2 separate regions of the Homo sapiens genome follow, and region 2 is linked to region 1. Evidence: promoter capture Hi-C in human tissues and cell types (Jung and others, 2019). All regions are on one chromosome and are shown on one strand. Each heading gives the region's core, a stretch centred on a gene start or on the middle of the fragment in contact. The rest is flanking DNA. Distances are from core to core; before and after follow the strand shown. Region 1 holds the start of DDX55 (DEAD-box helicase 55). Region 2 holds the start of ZCCHC8 (zinc finger CCHC-type containing 8).

Region 1 (6,978 bases), core at 1,498-3,997:
AAATGTGAACCACATAAACAATTTTAAATTTTCTAATAGCCATAGTAAGAAAAGTAAAAAGAAATGGGTGAAATAAATTTTAATATTTTATTTAACCCAATATATCAAAAATATTGTCCCTTCACATTTAGTCAATATTTAAAAATCAGCATTTTCCATTCTTTTTTCATACTAGGTCTTCAAAATCTAGTGTGTTATTTGATACTCAGAGTACACTTTGATTTGGACAAAGTGTATTTCAAGCACTTGATAGCCATGTCTGATGACTGTGTAGTGGATGACAGGTCTAGACAATGAGCTCTGAGGCCAGAGATTGGGTCTTGCTCGCACTACATTCCCTAGGCAGGGCACATAGCACTCCCAGTTTTCATCTCCAGCCCTGCCTGCTGGAAATACATTCTCCACATTCCCGGGAATCTTATGGGCATCTCAAACTCAAGACTTCATTTATTTAAAAAAAATTTTTGTGATGACAGGGCCTCCCTATGTTGCCCAGGCTGGTCTTGAACTCCTGATCTCAAGTGATCCTCCCACCTTGGTCTCCAAAAGTGCTAGGATTACAGGCGTGAGCCACCGTGCCCGGCCATTATTTATTTTAATTTCGAAGATGCGGGTCTCACTATGTTGCTCAGGCTGGTCTTGAACTCCTGGGCTCAAGGGATCCTCCCACCTCAGCCTTCCAAACAAATGGTACTACAGGCGGGTGCCACTGTACCCAGCTCAGTGTTTAAAAACAGGACTCTTGTGGTCAGGCGCAGTGGCTCACTCCTGTAATCCCAGCACTTTGGGAGGCCAAGGCGGGCGTACCTGAGGTCAGGAGTTCAAGACCAGTCTGGCCAACATGGCGAAATCCCGTCTCTACTAAAAACACAAAAATTAGCCAGGCGTGGTGGTGTATGCCTGTAACCCCAGCTACTTGGAAGGCTGAGATGGGAGAATAGCTTGAACCCGGGAGGCAGAAGTTGCAGTGAGCCGAGATCGTGTCATTGCACTCCAACCTGGGCAACAGAGAAAGATTCCGTCTCAAAAAAGTTAAAAACAAACAAACAAACAAAAAACAAAAAAAAGAACTCTTGACTTTCCCTCTGAAACCTGATACGCACGCCAGTCATTCTTGGGAAATGGTAACACCATTCACTCAGCTACTAATAAAAATCAGCCGGGTGCGGTAGCTCAGCCTGTAATCCCAGCACTTTGGGAGGCCAAGGCGGGTGGATCAGGAGGTCAGGAGTTCAAGACCAACCTGGCCGAGATGGTGAAACCCCGTATCTACTAAAAATACAAAAAATTAGCCGGGCATGGTGGCAGGCACCTGTGATCTCAGCTACTTGGGAGGTTCAGGCAGAGAATTGCTTGAACCCAGGAGGCGGAGGTTGCAGTGAGCCGAGATCGCGCCACTGCACTCCAGCCTGGGCAACAGAGCGAGACTCCATCTCAAAAAAAAAAAAAAAAAGAATAAAAACCTCAGGTCCTGTAGTCTTTTCTTTCCTAACCTCCACTTCCAGTCCCTTAGCAACCTTAAAGCTATCCCAAATGTGACTTCTCAGTATCCACTGGTTCCACCCTACTCCAAGTCACCATCATCTCTTACCTGACAATGGCCTCCTAAGCGACCTGCCTGCTTCATCTCTTATGCCTGGAAAGGCCACTCTCTACAGAGAAATCACAGCCCTTCCCTTCCTAAACATCCTCCCAGATAAGATGGCTTCCCACTACATTTAGAATGAAATCCAAGCGCCTACAAGACCCTGCACAATCCATCTCTTACACTACTCTTGATGTTCAGCCACAAAGGCCTCCTTTCTGCTGCTCAAACTATTTGCAGCCTGCCGCAGGGCATTTATGTGCACTGGTATTTCTCTCCAGTGGAATAATCTCCCCCTAGTCACCTCAGAGCCAGCTCCTTCTCAATCACTGAGGTCTCAGCTCAATGCACCTCCTCAGAGAGGCCTTCCTTAACACCCTATCTCACCTCCTCTGCAGTCCTCGCGCGACACTATCACAACCGTCTTAGTTCTTTCATAACACTTACCAGCAGCTGAAATTATCCTTTCTCTAGCTCTTGCACTAGAAAGTAAGGCTATGAGCAGATGCCAATACTGCAAACTCCCCAGAGCCTAGAAGAGTTCCTGACACATAGCAGGTCCTCAAGAAATATTCTTGAAGAGATGCATAACAACGGTAACCCTTACTGAGCTCCCATAGTGTGCCGACTGGTTTATTTAGTCCCCACAGCAACCCCATAAGGAGGGTGTTATTTTTTCGTCATTTCACAGAGAAGGAAAATGAAGCACGGAGAGGTTAAGCCATTTGCCCGAGGTCTCACAGCTACAGCGAGCAGGGCCAGGATGAGAACCAGGCTTGAGACCACAGCACCCGAGGGCGGGGTGGGTCGCGGCCCCTCTGCCGGCTCGCTGGCCGGGCAGCTCCGCATTCCGCCAGTCTGGGCAGCTGGAGACAAGGCAAGAGCCCCAGCTGGAGGGATGAGCGCCCCAGGGCTCAGATCTGTCCGATCACCTCCTGTGGGTCCGATGCAGCGGGTGCCTGCCCCTCTCCCAGCCTCACTCCCCCACGCCAGGGAACCGATACCTGCACCGGCGTCATGTACGGGAAGCCCAGCTCCCGCAGCGCGCCCAGCACCTGCGGGTGCAGCGGCACAGGCAGCGACTCCCAGGAGCCCTCTGTCACATGCTCCATGGCGCGCTCCTTCGCCGCGTCGGTCGCCGCTGCTCGAACGCGCCTTGTGCACCCCCAACGAGCACTTCCGCTTCCCGCAGCTCCAGCGGCCGGCCGGGAACTTCGCTGGAGCAGCAGAGTTCCGGAGCGCGGCGAAGGCTCCCACGCCGCGGGAGGGAGGAAAGGCGTCCGCGGGACGGTGGAGGCAGGCGGCGGGGCAGGCCTGGGGAGTTACACCCGCTCCGCACAGCGCCCTGGGCTCCGGGCGCCTCTCCGCACCGGGCAGGAGTTTTGGCGGGAGGGATTCTGGCCCGGCCCTCCCACTTTCTCTGCCCCTCGGAGGCAGGTGGCAGCACAGGACCGCGTCCAGGCCGAAGGACAGCGGGGCTGGCTACCGTGGGCAGAGAAACGTGTCGGGGACCCGGGTTAGCAGCCCTGCAAAACAGGCACCCGCTGATGGCCGGTACGTCCTGAATGTTGCGGTCCGATGGCCGGTACGTCCTGAATGTTGGTTTACTTTCCCGGAAGTTAGGGTCAGAGTCCTAACTAAGAACACTGTCCCATTCCTCTGTTCACTGTTTGCCTGGGCCATTCATGTCCACATACAACTTCACTCAGAAAGCTGTTTTTGTTGTTGTTGTTGTTGTTGTTGTTGTTTGAGACGGAGTCTCGCTCTGTTGCCCAGGCTGGAGGCTGGGCGCTATAACGGTTCACTGCAAGCTCCGCCTCCCGGGTTCACGCCCTTCTCCTGCCTCAGCCTCCCGAGTACCTGGGACTGCAGGCGCCCTCCACCACGCCCGGCTAATTTTTTGTATTTTTAGTAGAGACGGGGTTTCACCGTGTTAGCCAGGATGGTCTCGATTTCCTGACCTCGTGATCCGCCCGCCTCGGCCTCCCAAAGTGCTGGGATTACAGGCGTGAGCCACCGCGCCCGGCCTTCACTCAGCAAACTTTTATTGACCACTCATTATGTGCCCTCTATGAGGGCCTATCTCCTCCACCTATGTGCATGGCTTGCTCCTGTTGAGGCTCTGAAAACGAAACCCCAAAATGAAGGCCCCAGAGGCAGCCTCAGAAGCAAGTTTCTCTCTGACCTTCTGCTCCCTCTCTGATCTCTGATTCTCTGAGGCTAGCCATAGAAACTCAAGAATCCCTCTTGCCCATGACGGAGCATAGAAACAGGAATCCCTTTTCTCCACAGTCAGCCATAAAACCTAAAAATATTACTCTCTCTCCACCTTTCTGTGAAAAAACTGGCCATAAAGAAATTATTGGCCTGGCACGGTGGCTCACGCCTGTAATCTCACCACTTTGGGAGGCCAAAGCGGGCAGATCTCAAGGTCAGGAGTTCGAGACCAGCCTGGCCAATATGGTGAAACCCCGTCTCTACTAAAAATACAGAAATTAGCCAGGCGTGGTGGCGCATGCCTGTAGTCCCAGCTACTCAGGAGCCTGAGGCAGAAGAATCGCTTGAACCAGGGAGGTGGAGGTTGCGCCACTGCACTCCAGCGTGGGTGACAAAGCGAGACTCAGTCTCAAAAAAAAAAAGAAAAAGAAATTATCTGGGCTAGGTGCGGTGGCTCATGCCTGTAATCCCAGCACTTTGGGAGGCTGAGGCAGGCGGATCACCTAAGGTAAGGAGTTTGAGACCAGCCTGGCCAACGTAGTGAAACCCTGTCTACTAAAAATACAAAAAATTAGCCAGGTGTGGTGGCAGGTGCCTGCAGCTACTCCGGAGGCTGAGCTACAAGCATCGCTTGAACCTGAGAAGTGGAGGCTGCAGTAATCCTAGATCGCACCATTGCATTCCAGCCTGGGCGACAGAGTGAGACTCAGTCTCAAAAAACAAACAAACAAACAAACAAACAAACAAAAAAAGGCCAGACGTGGTGGCTCACACCTGTAATCCTAGCACTTTTGGAGGCCAAGGCGGGCAGATTGCCTGAGCTCAGGAGTTCGAGACCAGACGGTGAAATCCCGTCTCTACTAAAAATACAAAAAAAAATTAGCCAGATGTGGCAGCGTGCGCCTGTATTCCCAGCTACTTGGGAGGCTGAGGCAGGAGAATTGCTTGAACCCGGGAGGCGGAGGCTGCAGTGAGCCAAGATCGCGCCACCGCACTCCACCCTGGGTGACAGAGAGAGACTGTCTCCAAAAAAAAAAAAAATGTATCTGACCTCCTTTGTTTTGCTGGTAGGTTGTAAGACCCCATTCCAGGAAGGGTTCTTTCCCCTATCCAGAAGGAAAGAATCCAGACAGGCCTCGCTGGGCTTCCCCACTCAGTCTATGAGCATTAGATCATGCCCTTCTTGTCCAGTCCTATTTCTACTCAGCTGTGCATATTTTGTTGAGCCTAAGCATAAAAATAGTTTTCCCTGTAACTTTGGGTCTTAATTCTGAAGGTTCCTTTGTCATGTAAAAGCATGACCGAATAAATTTGTATCACTTTCCTCCTATTAATCTGCCTATTTTCAGTTGAATTTTTAGAGAAACCTGAGAGCAAAGGGGAAGTTTTCCCTTACACTCCCTTACATTCCACTTGGACTTTTGAAATCAACTTCTGTTACCTTCCTTTCTGTATCACTGAAACTCCTACCTTGATTTATGTTCCCTTCTTAGCATTTACCATTATCTCTTTCTCGCCACACACACACAAACACACACACACACACACAAAACTTATTAGGTTCATCTCTGCCACCAAAATGTAAAACCCACACTAATAGGGTCTTTTCTCTATCTTCTTTATCCCAAGGACTATCACTGTAGCACACAGCAATCACTCAAATATTTGTGGGATTGATAAATGGGAATACAACTCATGCAGACTGCAGTCATCTCAAATTAAGTAAAAGACAACAGCCTGAAGCCACATTTTCAGTGAAATGATCATCACATTCTCAAAACACCTTTGACAACTTTTATAAAATGGGACTTCGGCTAGGCACGGTGGCTCATGTCTGCAATCCCAACACTTTGGGAGGCTGAGGCAGGAGGATCACTTGAGCCCAGGAGAATGAGGCCAGCCTGGGCAACATACAGGAGACTCTGCCTCTACAAAAATAATTTTTTAATTAGCTAGGCGTGGTGGTGCATGCCTGTGGTCCCAGCTACTCGGGAGGCTGAGATGAGAGGATCACTTGAGAGGTTAAGGCTCCAGTGAGCCATGTTTGTGCCACTGCACTCCAGTCCAGGTAACAAAGCAAGACCCTGTCTTTAAAAAACAAAAAATGTAGTCCCAGCTACTTGGAGAGCTGAGGTGGTAGGATCACTTGAGCCCGGGAGGTTGAGGCTTCAGTGAGCAGAGATCAAGCCAACCTGGGAACAGAGTGAGATCCTGTCTCCAAAAAAAGAAAAGGTGGGAGACTTCACAGACAGTTCTGAAAGCAAAGGCACAGGGAAATTACATATCTGTGTGTGTCTTCTGGGCTCTACTACCTACTAGTTTTCTGACCTTAAGACCCTTTCCAAGCCTGTTTTCCTCCTCACTTCCAAAATGGTTTTACCCAAGGTAATGGCAGTTTTGAAGCATGAATAAGACAGACCAAGTAAAGTGCTTAGTACTAGATCGAGACATTACACAGTACTCAAGAAATGGTAGCTACTTTTATTACCAGCAGGCCGTTAGTTTCACAGAGGAAGAACAGTTTCTACAGGTGGTGATCTAGTCTCCGGTTCCACCTTTCACTCTTTTCTGTGGCCTTGGGCAAATCATTTAATCTGTCTTTGAAGCTATTTCCCACATTCATAAACTACGTGGGCAAGTGAAAATAATTCAACCCTTTTTTCCCAAATAGAAAAATACTTAAGATTTTAGCACTGATCCATCAGAGAAGCCACACTGGAAAACCTACGCAGAAACTAAAACTTGGTACCATTCACTATCCTCAAGTTTATAGAATTAAAAAGTAACAGACGTAATAGGTATAAATACTCAGAAAACATGAACATGTCTCATGTCAAATAAGAACAGAAAGTTGGTGTGTAAAAAATGTGGATTAGCTGTCAATATATAAAACACAGAATACTGTTTTTAAAAAGAATTGTTTATTTACCGAACCTGGGGCATATTAGATACAACCAATTTTAAATTTACATCTTTTAAATCAGTTTTGAAGTGTTTCACACACACAAAAAACTTGGCATGCAACAGTTGTCCTAAGGTGAAAGTCACCTCATTAATAAACTGTTGCAAGTGTTCTCACCCAAGGTGGAAGTATGGTTTATCCTGAACATGAAAACCTGTAACAAATTTAAATTAATTATATAAAACTCGTTACTTGTAGTTTTGCCCTTGCAAAG
Region 2 (6,978 bases), core at 2,515-5,014, 1.1 Mb after region 1:
TTTGAAGTCTTCTCCAGCATAGACTATAAAATATTAAAATATTAGAAATTTTTTTTGTTTGTTTTTTTGAGACAGGATCTTGCTCTGTTGCCTAAACTGGGTGCAGTGGCACAATCTCGGCTCACTGCCAGAGCCTCTGCCCCCCAGGTTCAAGCAATTCTCCCACCTCCACCTCCCATGTAACTGGGATTACAGGCGTACCACCGCACCCAGCTAATTTTTGTATTTTTAGTAGAGGTGGGGTTTTACCATGTTGGCCAGGCTGGTCCTGAACTCCTGACCTCAGGTGATCCACCCTCCTCAGCCTCCCAAAGTGCCGGGATTATAGGCGTGAGCCACTGCAGCCAGCCTAGAAAATGTTTTGTTACTAGATTGAACATAAATCTGGAGCCAAGGGGTGGGGGGGGCCTGCAAAACTTGAAGTTAATTTACTTCAGTTACAGCAAAGTAATAAGGTTTGGCTTTCCTTTGAAAAATCCTTTGGAAAACATCACAGAATGAGAGCACATTACAATCAGGGAAGACTACAGGAATAAGATTGACAGCCTTATTTTAAAAGCTGGAATTAAGTCTTGCCAACTTGCTCATTAGGTATTTTTTTTATACATGAAAATGAAGTAATGGGGTGTTTTCTTTTTTTTTGCTTTCTGTCCTAGGCTGGAGTGCAGTGCATTGCAGCAGGCTCCCCCAGGCTCAAGCAGTCCTCCCACCTCAGCCTCTTGAGTACCTGGGACCACAGGTGCTCACCAACACACCTAGCTTGTTTTTAATTTTTTATAAAGACAAGGTCTTGTTACGTTGCCCAGGTTGGTCTTGAATTCCTGGCCTCAAGCAATCCTCCCACCTCAGGGCTCCCAAAGTGATGGGGTTACAGGTGTGATCCACTTCACCTAGCCAGATTGTAAGATTTTTAATGTACTTTAATAAACCTTTCATTTTCCCAGAGCACAGAAATTCTATGGCAAAATGGCTTTTCACCGTGTTTCAGTGACAAATCTAAGCCTTCTAAGGAAATGACACTATGGATCCTTCATTTCGTGATCATCAACATTTTTCAATTAAGCTCTGCCTTTTTAAATCAATCTTATTAAAAATGTTCATGACCTTCTAAGGCAGTGTGGACGCAAAAGCTTCCTGTGTGTCTACAGTTATTTTAGGAGCTGACCATACATGATGAGTGATACAGCCTGTACTTTGCTCATCTAGAGCAGCACTGTCCAATAAAATATGTGTGTATATGTATATTGGTCCAAGTGATCTTCCCACCTCACTCCCCTGAGTAGCTGGCACCAAAGGCCCATGACAATGTACCTGAGATGGGGTTCTCAGGCTGTTGGCCAGGCTGGTCTCCCACTCTTGGCCTCAAATGATCTGCATCATCTCAGCCTCCCAAAGTGCTACCTGGGATTCAGGTGTGAAGCCACAGTGCCTGGCCTAAGTATTTTATTTCAATTTCTTTTTTGAGTAGCCAAATGCAAATAATTAAAAGATGAAATTACAGTTGTCCCTTGAACACATGGGTTTGAACTTTAGGGTCCACTTACATGCAGAATTTTTTTTTCTTTTTTTCTTTTTTTTTTTTTTGTGAGAGACTCTTTTGCCCAGGCTGGAGTGCAGTTGCATGATCCTAGCTCACTGCAACCTTTGTCTCCTGGGTTCAAGCAATTTTCCTGCCTCAGCCTCCTGAGTAATTGGAATTACAGGCACCCGCCACCACGCCCGGCTAATTTTTGTATTTTTCGTAGAGACGGGGTTTCACTATGTCAGCTAGGCTGGTCTTGAACTCCCGGGTTACACCATGTTGGCCAGGCTGGTCTTGAACTCCTGACCTCATGATCCACCCGCCTGGGCCTCCCAAAGTGCTGGGATTACAGGCGTGAGCCACCACGCCAGGCCTCATGCAGATTTTTCAGTGAAAGTAAACCTGGGAGGCGGAGGTTGCAGTGAGCCGAGATCATGCCACTGCACTCCAGCCTGGGTGACACAGTGAGACTCTGTCTCAAAAAATAAAATTTCAAAAAAAAAAAATTTAAATGGCCAGGCACAGTGGGTCATTCCTGTAATCCCAGTATTTAGGGAGGCAGAGGCAGGAGGATAGCTTTAGCTCAGAAGTTCAAGACCTACCTGGGCAATATAGGGAGATCCTGTTGTCCACAAAAAGAAAAAAAAAATGTTAAAATGTGTAAGTGACTTCCCAATGTTGTAAACGGAAAGAGGCTTCCTTAAGGGCCTTTGAGCACTGACCTAGCAGTGTTCCAACCTCATCTTGCTCCACTCTGCCTTTTCACTCAACATGGTGGTCCTTACACCTAAGACACTCTTCCATCCTCCCACCCCCAACTTTGCCGATCCTTAAAGTCTCACTTCCTCACTTTACTGACTCCCACAGACTAGGGTGTTTGTTAAATATTCATAACTTCCTGTGTTTTTCACCTTTTTTTTTTTTTTTTTTTTTTTGAGACAGAGTCTTGCTCTGTCGCCCAAGCTGGAGTGCAGTGGCACGATTTCGGCTCACTGCAACCTCTGCCTCCCGGGTTCAAGCGATTCTCCTTCCTCAACCTCCTGAGTAGCTGGGATTACAGGCGTGTGCCACTACGCCTGGCTAATTTTTGTATTTTTAGTAGAGACAGGGTTTCTCCATGTTGGTCATGCTCGTCTTGAATTTCTGACCTCGTGATCCACCTGCCTCGGCCTCCCAAAGTGCTGGGGTTGCAGATGTGAGCCACCGCCCCCGGCCCACATTTCTTTGTGTGATCAATATCCATCAACAACCATCTCGACCCAAGAACAGGAACATTTATAATTATGGGGTTTTTGTTGCTTTTTGTGGACTACAGCCTTCGTGAGAGGAGGAATTACTCTATTGTGGTTACTCTTGTAACCATACTCAGGTCCTAGACAAGTGCCTGGCCCATCGAAGGTGTAAGTAAATAATGTGATTGAATGACAGAAAGCCTCAACAGACAAATAGTTGAGTCTAGCTAATCTTACATTAAAAACGAAGCAAGCTCAATAAACTAATCTACAACAGTCATCTCTGTAGCAAAGCTGGAGTTTCTTATTCTCTTTTATGTTTATTTTTATTCAGTTCCCTTTCAGGCTATGGAGTTCCTTATTCTCTGGTGTGGCACGCACACCAGAATCTGTGAGAAGCTATGCGTCGTGCTCTGATTTTTCACCCTTAGTTGCCTAACAGGAACATCCCATACTGGTTTTTGTTTTTCTTTTTCTTTTTGAGACAGGGTCTTGCTTTGTCTCCCAGGCTGGTGTGCAGTGGCGCCATCTGGGCTCAATGCAGCCTCGACCTCTTGGGCTCAAACCCTCCCGCCTCAGCTTGCCGAGTACTTGGGACTACAATCGCCCAGCTAATTTTTATATTTTTTTGTAGTGTCTGGGTCTCGCTCTGTTGCCCAGGGTGGTCTCCAACTCCTGGGCTCACGTGATCCTCCCACCTCTGCCTCCCGAGTAGTTGGTATTACAGGTGTGAGCCACCCCGCCCTGCCCCCAGATTGCTTTAGCGCATTCTGACCTACTCCAGCTTTCTTCACATTTCAAAAAGCACCAATCCCAGGATGCAATGCAGACAATGAGTACCAGTCGCTTAGAAACCACACGTCCCAGCATGCCGTCCTCCGGGCAATCGCAAGCCCGATAGGCCCCGCTGCATTCCGGGAGTTGTAGTCTCTAGCGACTGGCCCCGCCCCGTGTGCAGCTTTCGCGGCCTGCGTCTGGAGAAAACCCTAGCGGGTGGCTCCGTGCGGCCAGAGCTCTAGAGAGTGGTGCCGCCTTCCAACCTTCTTCCCCAAGCCCTGGTGGCCGGCTCCGCCTCTTCTCGAATCTTTTCCACAGCCCAAAATGGCCGCAGAGGTGTATTTTGGCGATCTAGAGCTCTTCGAGCCGTTCGACCACCCAGAGGAGTCGATTCCGAAGCCCGTTCACACTCGCTTCAAGGACGACGACGGCGACGAGGAGGACGAAAATGGGGTCGGCGACGCGGAGCTACGGGAGCGGCTTCGGCAGTGCGAGGAGACCATCGAGCAGCTCCGCGCCGAGAATATCCTTTCCTCTCGCTGGGCCCTGTCACCCGGGTGTGGGGCCGGGGCAGCGCCAGGCGTGGGGCCGGGGCAGCGCCGGGCGAGGGCGAGGGCGCGGGCGGAAGTTCCAGGAGGGCCAGAATTCCAAGTGCTTTCTGTCACCCGCCGGCGGACCGAGAGTCTAGGGTTCGGGGCGCGCAGGCTGCCTCGGCGCAGACCTCTTCCCCTCAGGGAGGCCGTCTCCTGACCAGACCCACTCCTGCCTCCCACCCGGGTGCCGTGTTTAGGGTTATTTTAGGCTGCTCACCTGACAGATTGTACACAAGCCCTTAATTGCCCCCCTCTGTTTGAGGTCGTGGTGAGGTTTCATATTTCGCAGCCACGCTCAAATTGTGCCGTCATGTTACAGTTGTAGGTGATGAAATACCGGCTGCTTAGACGCGGGATCGGTTTTTATACCGGGGCAAACGCTAGTGGTCCCAGAATGCAGAGTTGGGGGCCTCAAGGAATCCGGGTGTGCTGAGATAATTGGTTAATTGCTTGATTAAAATTGGGGATTAATTTTAGAGTTCTTCCACTCGGAGCTCGCTTCTGTGCTGAAGATGCTTTGCAACGCCTTGAGGAAAACGCGCCAAAGAAGTTTCTGTTAGACTTGAGTTACAAGATTGCAGATTTTTCTTGATTTGCTAGTATGTTTTTTTTTACGTTCGTAGAGTTTTATAGGTAGATAGATAACTTTGGTTCGGGTAGTTTTCCTTTTAAAATTTGTAGAGAACTGAAAGTGGCTGATATGTTAGCTTTTTTAGGGGGACGGGGTCGGGGAATGGAGTCTCAGTCTGTTGCCCAGGCTGGAGTGCAGTGGCGCGATCTCGGCTCACTGCAACCTCCGCCTCCCGGGTTCAAGCGATTCTCCTGCCTCAGCCTCCCGAATAGCTGGGATTACAGGCGCCCGCCACGGCGCCCAGTCAGTATATCAGTTTTTAAGGTTTGTGAAGCGCGATTTATTTTTTCAGAATGTCGTCTTCCTCCACATTGTGAGGAAAATTTTCAGAATACAAAAAGTTGAGGCCGGGCGCTGTGGCTCAAGCCTGTAATCCCAGCACTTTGGGAGGCCGAGGCGGGTGGATCATGAGGTCAGGAGGATCATGAGGATCAGGTGGATCATGAGGATCAGGAGGTCAGCCTGGCCAACATGGTGAAACCCCGTCTCTACTAAAAATACAAAATTAGCCGGGCGTGGTGGCGCGTGCTTGTAATCCCAGCTACTCAGGAGGCTGAGGCAGGAGAATCCCTTGAACCTGGGAGGCGGAGGTTGCAGTGAGCCAAGATCACACCATTGCACTCCAGCCTGGGCGACAGGGTGAGACTGTGTCTCAAAAAAAAAAAAAAAAAGTTGAAAGGATTCTACAGTGGACATCCATAGATTTATTCCAAATTCTAAAGTTGTTAACAGCTCGTTATACTGCATTCTCTTTATCACATAGTGGTTGTTGAAAGGTTTGACAGGAACACTGATGCTTCAATAATGGTTTTGGTTCAGTTTGTTAGTCTGTTGAACTTCAGGATCGTGTCTTAGAATATATGTTCGAAAGGATAAAAACCGTACTTTAATTTTGGGTTTCAAAAGCCTACCCCTGCAACAAAATAGAAGCTCAATAAGTGTGTCATCCTCAAAATATCCGTGGGTCTTTTGTCTTTATAATATTCTGACACCAAAAGTGAGAGAAGTAGTAGTTGAATTTTATGATTTGCATTGTTAAATGAGGGCTTATCTTCCTTAACAAATAATAACATCAAGAACTTAAACGAAAATTGAACATTCTGACTCGACCGAGGTATGAGATTTTTGAAATTACTCCATAGTTGTCCCTTATTATTTATCCTGATATTAATATTTAATCAGAATTTCGTTGTAAAAAGTGTATGGGATTTTTGTATCATTTTTATTTGTTTAGCATACTCTGAAGAAATCAAAGTAATAGTTATTTAATTGTGGGGATAAGGTCTGAATTCTCATAAGTGGATTAAAATTGTAAGCTCATTTATTGGATGAAAGGATGAAACAAAATCCAGAAAATGTTTACTTAATGTTCAGAATAGGCAAGTTGTTAACCTAGCTATTCCTATTTAACAAACATTTCTAGAAAGTTAGAATTAAGATTACAATATTGGCTGGGTCTGGTGGCTCATGCCTGTAATTCCAGCACCTAAAAAAAAAAATTATAGTATAATGGGCCAGGGGCAGTGGCTCACGCCTGTAATCCCAGCACTTTGGGAGGCCGAGGTGGGCGGATCAACTGAGGTCAGTTCGAGAGCAGCCTGGGCAACGTGGTGAAACGCTGTCTCTACTAAAATTACAAAAATAAGCTGGACGTGGTGGGCGCCTGTAATCCCAGCTACTTGGGAGGCTAAGGCAGGAAAATCCCTTGAACCCGGGAGGTAGAGGTTGCAGTGAGCTGAGAGTGACAAGAGCGAAACTCCGTCTGAAAAAAAAAAAAAAAAAGATTACAGTATTACTCTAGCTGAAGATTTATTTACATAGTTAAAATGTGTTCATAAATAGAACAATGAAAGAATCAGCATTTTAGAAGAAAAAGTAATGTGCTTTTGAAAAAGATAAAGTGTGTAGATTTGCATTTAGGCATCTGATTTTATGTTTTTGTTTTTGTTTGAGACAAGATCTCACTCTGTCACTCAGGCTGGTGTACAGTGTTGCAATTATAGCTCACTGAAACCTTGATCCTCCCGCCTCAGCCTCCCAAATAGCTGGGACTACAGGCAGACACCACCACACCCAGCTACTTTTTTTTTTTCTGATAGAGTCAGGGTCTTGCTGTGTTACTCAAGCTGGTCTCAAACTCCTGGCCTGAAGTGATCCTTCTGCCTAGGCCTCCCAAAGTGCTGGAATTACAGGGATGAGCCACCATGCCCAGCCTAGGCACCT

What was found. Contacts are between HindIII fragments. The study calls those that stand out against the background at their distance.
Region 2: the fragment with the promoter of ZCCHC8 here is called in contact with the fragment with the promoter of DDX55 in region 1 in 1 of the 25 tissues and cell types used here (hippocampus).

The regions. Positions count from the first base shown.
Region 1 is chr12:123,597,868-123,604,845 of GRCh38, reverse strand. It overlaps DDX55 (DEAD-box helicase 55), which reads right to left and starts at 2,747. Exons shown (of 14, transcript NM_020936.3): 1 at 2,590-2,747. The coding sequence starts at 2,697. It overlaps TMED2 (transmembrane p24 trafficking protein 2), which reads right to left. Exons shown (of 4, transcript NM_006815.4): 4 at 6,264-6,978. RefSeq lists an enhancer at 1,986-2,035 and a silencer at 2,276-2,385. The HindIII fragment of the contact is 15,410 bases long and covers 1-6,978 here.
Region 2 is chr12:122,497,718-122,504,695 of GRCh38, reverse strand. ZCCHC8 (zinc finger CCHC-type containing 8) reads left to right here and starts at 3,764. Exons shown (of 14, transcript NM_017612.5): 1 at 3,764-4,054; 2 at 5,827-5,869. The coding sequence starts at 3,856. RSRC2 (arginine and serine rich coiled-coil 2) reads left to right here. Exons shown (of 10, transcript NM_023012.6): 10 at 1-1,242. RefSeq lists silencers at 427-627, 4,056-4,205 and enhancers at 2,719-3,410, 3,346-3,525, 3,576-3,635, 3,836-3,915, 3,411-4,104 and 1 more. The HindIII fragment of the contact is 12,081 bases long and covers 1-6,978 here.